Regions from separate parts of the Homo sapiens genome. Here region 1 is linked to region 2. The links are contacts of gene promoters, found by promoter capture Hi-C in human tissues and cell types (Jung and others, 2019). All regions are on one chromosome and are shown on one strand. Each heading gives the region's core, a stretch centred on a gene start or on the middle of the fragment in contact. The rest is flanking DNA. Distances are from core to core; before and after follow the strand shown. Region 1 has its middle 62 kb from the start of PLCXD2-AS1. Region 2 holds the start of TMPRSS7 (transmembrane serine protease 7).

What was found. Contacts are between HindIII fragments. The study calls those that stand out against the background at their distance.
Region 1: a fragment that was not itself captured here is called in contact with the fragment with the promoter of TMPRSS7 in region 2 in 1 of the 25 tissues and cell types used here (aorta).

The regions. Positions count from the first base shown.
Region 1 is chr3:111,737,756-111,741,129 of GRCh38, reverse strand. It overlaps a transcript of PHLDB2 not described here. Among named protein-coding and RNA genes, the nearest start is that of PLCXD2-AS1, 62 kb to the right of the region's middle. The HindIII fragment of the contact is 3,475 bases long and covers 1-3,002 here.
Region 2 is chr3:112,033,426-112,036,546 of GRCh38, reverse strand. It overlaps TMPRSS7 (transmembrane serine protease 7), which reads right to left and starts at 1,811. Exons shown (of 18, transcript NM_001395507.1): 1 at 1,654-1,811. The coding sequence starts at 1,701. The HindIII fragment of the contact is 15,104 bases long and covers 1-3,121 here.

The sequences.
Region 1 (3,374 bases), core at 16-2,515, 290 kb after region 2:
GCAGTGCTAGAGAATCCAGTCCAATAATAGGAATTCAGTTCAATTCAAGAAGCAATGGTGCTCACTGATTGGAGAACTTGTAAAGGTGCCAGCTGGTACTTGGTGGTTAGCATTAGGACTATGTGAGATTGTCTCCATGTTTCAGCACCTTGTCATCATTGTTCATATTTCTTTGTTTTTAGCTTTTCTCCCCCCTCTCCTCTCCCCACTGTTTCTTTTTTTTTTTTTTTAACTTGATGGGCATGAAATGAGGCATTGAGGTCTGTATTTGAGTTAAGTTTGACATTGATAATCATTGTTGGACTCATGGGCTGTTCTGATTCTCTGACTTTGTTAAGAGATACTATATGGTTGAATCATAAGCCTGTCCTCTTCCTAGCCTACCTTAAGTGAATGTATTTGGTGGGGGGGCAAGCCAAGGGTGACTTTTGGTGATTGTTAGTTTTGTGGCTTCTAAAAAGTGAGTGTAGTTAATACGGTTGTGACAGTCAACTAAGCATTATATATTGTGTTACGTGTTATCTATCCTTCTTCCCAAGAGACTACCTAAGAAGAAGTTAGTTAGATATTAGGAATAGAGTAGAAACAGAGAAGTGGGTATACTCAGTAAGATTTTTGTGGAGTAAAGCAGAAAGTCACTTGAAGACTCCGCCAAGAAATCAGTGTGTTCTTACTGAATTTATGGCATCGTCTGCCCACTTCATGTACCTCGAAAATTACCAGATATCCCCTGGTGATGATAGTTAATTAATTCTCTCTCTCTCTCTCTCTCTCATATTTAATGAGGACAATAATAGGCAGCAAAGTGATGCAGCCTCTAAATGCAACTGAGACATAAGATCATTGATGTCCAATTTCTTTCAGCGTTTTTCTTCTTGGACCAGAGGTTCTTTGCCATCACTTGTGATTGTGGTTCTTCAGGGTCTTAGCACTCCCTAGGCATGGGTCTGGGTGATAAGGTAAACCCGTGTGAGCCATGATGATATCACACTTTATTTACTGAAATGTCTAGCTGTGCCTTGCTGTTTGGTGCAATTAGTAGGTTCCTTTGAGTTGTACTGCCCGGGCTGCCTTCTCTCATACAGTATCATAGTGAGCAAGCATTATTCTTTCCTTTTTATGTGGAGAAGGAGAGCAAACAGAAGTAAAATAACCTCAGGTAAAAAAAAATTTTAAAAATGCTTGAAATAGAATGTCATAATTCTGCTAGTCATCTTGAGGACCATTCATTTCTGCAGATTTTAATAGGGAAACCAGACTTCCTCTTAAAAAAAAACCTGCCTTTTTGGTTCGGGGCCTGGAGGATGCAGTCTCCCTTCTTTGATATGCCCTCTCTTCATTACAAATAGCCTTTTATGAAGCTTACAAGAAGGGACACGAGCACAGGCACCCAGTTAGCAACAACCTGGGTGAGTAAACCTGGGCAGGGTGCCTGGGGTGGCTCAGGGAGAGGCAGGGAGACAGGGGTGATCTCAGGATTCAGAGCAGACTCAAAGCTTTTCTGTAGCCTGTGACCATTGTTTTTTTTTTTTGTTTGTTTTGTTTTTTTTTTTTTTAACTTCAGAAGAGGTGTGGATCTGTCCCTCACTCTCTGCCTTTTGTTTATAATGTCATCTTCTCCTCCTCCTCCAAACACACACAGTTCCATCTGACTCACTGCCATGTTTCTGTAACCTTGGGCAAGTCACGTCACCTTTAAGGGCTTCCGTTTATTTATAAAGAGAGAATGATAGTCATGACTGACTGCCTGCTGGAGCTTGCATTAGTGGCACACAGGCGTGGCAAAGCTGAGTGCTGGACAAGAGAATTCAGATGTGGTTTCTTTACTCTCCCAGCCAAGTGGGCTTCTTCTCTAGTAAAGATCAATGCCCAGACTCACCAATTTATAACATCTTCAAGGTGGCATAGCTGGGATCTCTTGAGCAGCTTTTTCATTCCCCTTATTTACCCAAGAGATAGGAATGATCTCCCTAGATAAATTAAAATTATTTCTGTATTTTCCGTAAAGAACTTTCTGAAGTAAACTTTTCTAGTTTTTCATAGAACACAGAATATCAAAACTAGAGAAGACATTAGAGATGTTATACTCTCAATCCCCTGCCTCCATTTTGAAAATGAGAAAATTGAGGCCACGAAAGCCGAAGTGACTTGCCCAGAGTTGCCCTGTTGGTGTGTGTAGTAGCAGAATCAAACACAACCGAGGTCTCCTATGTGCTGTACCATTCAGTTGGGGGTTGGCAGAAGAGCAAGTAGACCCTTGATGCCCTATTCCCTCTACACCAATGGTTAACACTTCTGATTCTTTCTTTAGTCTCCCCTAGCAATTCCAGTTTTCTTTTTATAAATCAATTTCTTGATTAAATTCCTAGCTGATTACTAGTTTAGTATCACCAACAAATATTTACTGAGAACCCATTATCTTCTTGGTACTGTATAATGATTAAAAGTACACATACACACACAGATACATACACACAGGCAGACACACACATACACACACACTAACATACACACAAATATAGAGGACTCTAAAGAAGCTGTGGTTTGGCCTACTGGATAAATTTAAAACCTTCTCATCTCTGGTAAGTGGCAAGATTATTTAATCCTATGTCAAAGACAGTGTCTAACACACTTCTGGGAAAGAGTAGATGATTGTTGCTGAACTGAGTGGATAACCCATCAATAAATGTTTGTGGTTATCCAAAATTAGAACGCAGATGAGTAAAGATGTGAAACTAAGCCATCCCCAAGATGTGTAAAAATTGGCATAAAGCCACAGAGAAAGACAACAATGATGTCAGGCCTAGGATGCCTCTGTTGGGCTATTTTAGTTTAATTTGTTGGACTATAATTTATCAACACAACTGTATTCTATAACAATACTATTCTTATGGAAAATGGAGAATTTTCATTTTGCAAAGAAAAGCAAAATGAGATGAATTTGAGTAGAGAACAGTCACGTTCTGGGAAGTCTAGCCATTAGCTCTTCCTATGATTAGGATTCCTAGCTAGGAAGCAGAGCTAAATTTTGTGGGATACATGTATTTGAAATTAAAAGTACATCTCCTTGGAATTCGTAGGGGTATTGGCTTTCCTTGGGTCACAGAGAGAAGCCTGCCACCTGCCAATTCACTGCAACATCTTCTGGCCGACCTCTCCTGGGTTTTCTCTTCTCTTGAAGCCTGCTCACATACTAACCACAAGTTTTCAGCTGTTTACCTTGTGAAACCTAATGAGATCACCACAAAGTAGGCCCCATGGACGAAAGCCATCATTCCACAGAAGTACACATGAGCTCCAGCCAAATGCACTATATAAGGCTTATCTTGAGAAATGAATCCTTGAAAACATCAACCCAGTGATGACAAAAAAGA
Region 2 (3,121 bases), core at 562-3,061:
GACCAGGCTGGAGTGCAATGGAGTGATCTTGGCTCACTGCAACCTCTGCCTCATGGGTTCCAGCGATTCCCCTGCCTCAGCATCCCAAGTAGCTGGGATTACAGGCACTCACCACCACACCTGGCTAATTCTGTATTTGTAGTAGAGATGCGGTTTCACCATGTTGGTCAGGTTGGTCTTGAACTCTTGACCTCAGGTGATCCACCCACCTTGGCCTCCCAAAGTGCTGGGATTCCAGGTGTGAGCCACTATGCCTGTCCACAGTCCTTTTAGTATATGTGTGTGTTTCACATGTTTGTATTATATTGTTTTTCTCTCACAATCAATTATTTCTGGGCTGATGCAGGATTGAAAATAAGAAGATAAGTGAGTTCCCCACAGAAATGAATTGATTTCCTAGTTACAGCTTCATGACTGGGTGGTAGGAAGGAAAAGTAAAGGTGATATGATAATTTGCATAGATTGTACAAATTTGTGCAATTTGTAACTGCACAAATTGTTCGTAAAGCATGTGTGTTTACATACGGTTGTAGGGTTGTGGGTTTATAGGAATTAAATATGTTTGTTTTGCCATTGCCAGCCGCTGCCATTGCCAGCCACAGTTTCTCAATTATAAATGAAATAATTATTTAAAAGTAAATGGAAGAATGAAATAGAACACTCATTAGATTAGAAAATTGTTGGTTTAAGTGTATTGATGTGCATAGTGTTATGTGCAAGAGTAAAAAATACATTATTTAATTGTTTCCCTTCCTCCTCTTTTATTTTCTTGTCTACCCTCTGCTATTTGATGCTGTGAATTCTTTAATAATGTATTCAAGAGTTTAGCTTCATTTAAGGAGAGATTTATACAAGTCAGGGTAACTAAACTCCAGAGACGAAATAGCTTTTAACCACACATTCTTTTAAAGGCAACAATATGGAATGCCAATGCCAAAGAAATAATCTCTCTTTTGCACTGTCCTTAAGAGTTCTCTCCTTCTCTTTTCCTCTCCCTCACTCTTCTCTTCAAAATTCATGCCCTCCAGTCTTTAATCTTGCCAATTAATGGGATAATACGTGGCCACGTACACTCTGAATTATTCATGGCCCCTTCATTCTTTTTGCCAAACACCTTGTCAACCCCTGGAGTGAAGTGTTGCTTGTATCCTTTCTGGTGAAATTGAACTAGACCAGACATCATTTAATGTGGTGTCCTGCAGGAATGAGGACTGGGTTTCTAAAGAGAGAAACATTCCATTGTAGAATGAGTTGTCGATGGTATCAAGCTACTTTCAAGTGCTCCCCCAAAAGAAATAAAGAAACACGCAGAAATGCCAGTACATGTTGAACTGACAAAGCCAAGTTTGGATCTTTTAAGTGCAGAAACACATTATAGGCAGTCTCAGTTAGCACTGATTAAATTTTAAAATGGAATTTGTGTAGAGATCAGTACAATTTCCCTGGAGTTTTAGAAAAACGGCTACAAATCAATTGCCAAGTACAGCACTTTATAATAAGCTCACATTTGTAAAACCCATTAATTACCATAAGAAGATAAAATATTTTATTATTGTTTCCTTTATGTTTATAAGGTCATACAATCTCATTTTACTAACAGGGTCAACAATAAATGGCATTCAAGTAAGAGAAAGTTTCTCACCCTGTACTTACTTTCAGGTCAGCAGGTGCGGCTGAAACATCGCTGTTTTCTTTGTCCATTATTAGGCGTTTTGTGTGTGATCATCCAGGGGTGTCTCAAAGCCAGTTTTTGCCCCTTATATGCTCTCTTGAGAAGAATTGAGAGAACCGTCACCGCATTCAAGCTAGCTTTCAGAGGAGTGGAATCAATTTACCTCCACCGGGTTCAGTTCAGAAACTGAAGCCGCCTCATTGCTATATTGTAAATGTTAAAGGGACCTAGCACTCAGCTTTGCACCCCAAACTCAAGGATTCTCAATGTAACTTTCATAGGAGTCAGGCCTCTCAGAGTACAGCCAGCCTCAAGGCAAGGTTTTCTTATAAGAAACACAATCCTACAATCCAGTAACATTTAAAAATCATTATAATTTTTTTCTTGCATCTCCTAAAGAATATGAAGAGGTCTAATTTACAACCCTCAGCACCACATCTGAGAAGTCCTCACACCTCATTTCTCTTGCGTGGCATCTCTTGCCTGCTCCAGGAGACTCACTCTTCAGTCCTGCTCTCAACTCTCCAGCCATACTCTCTGAGAACTCATAATCCAAAGGGACTTTTTTCCATTTAGCTCCCCCTACTTCTTGCAGTCAGTCCTCAGTAAACCTGGGGCCCTTTCTGCTGTAAAGCCCCTGTTTCCATCTCTCCCATACTTCCCAATGTCAATCTGAATTAGATCCATGGTGGGAAGAATAATCCAATCCTGAGGGGCAGTGTCAGAATTTCTCTTAGCAGACGGGGAGAAAAAGGCAGGGATTGCTGGAACCTCATCACCCTGTGGGCACTGGGTGTCAACAGAAAGCTGATCTGTCACGCTTTAAAGGAGAAACACTGTTCTGCTGATCCAGACACAAACTTCAGCATCATTCACGGGCTGTGCATATGGCAAGTGAGAAACTGCCTGCTGAAAGTGGGGAAAGATTAGTTGAGTTGCTTCATACCTGAAATTTGATCTAACTTGGGGAAGATGAGACAGAATAACAAAAAAAAAAAAAAAAAAAAAAAAAGAATTAAGTCATGTACAAATTCGCCTCTTGGGTTTTGTTATTTATTATTCACATTGATGAAATTATTAATAATGGTTTAGACTTTATAATATTACTTTTAATGGCTCATCTTTCCAGTATTATTTCTCTACCTATTTCTAGAACTAACTCATATTTCACCAATATAAGTAAAATTTGTATACTTATCGGTGGCCATTGACAAAGACTCTCTTCTTGACCAAAGTGTTGTCAGGTTACTCTGAGCTCTCTTTTCAACTAGACCTTGTCCTTGGGCCTTGTCTTTGGCCCATCTGGTCAGTTTAGCAGGAATCCCCCCGCCTTGATATCTGATCACCCTTGATTTTGCTTTCTTTTTCTTTTCTTTCTTTCTTTCTTTCTTTTTTTTTTTTTTTTTTTTTTTGATTCAAGAGTGGCCTTGAAATACCCTTGATATCTGA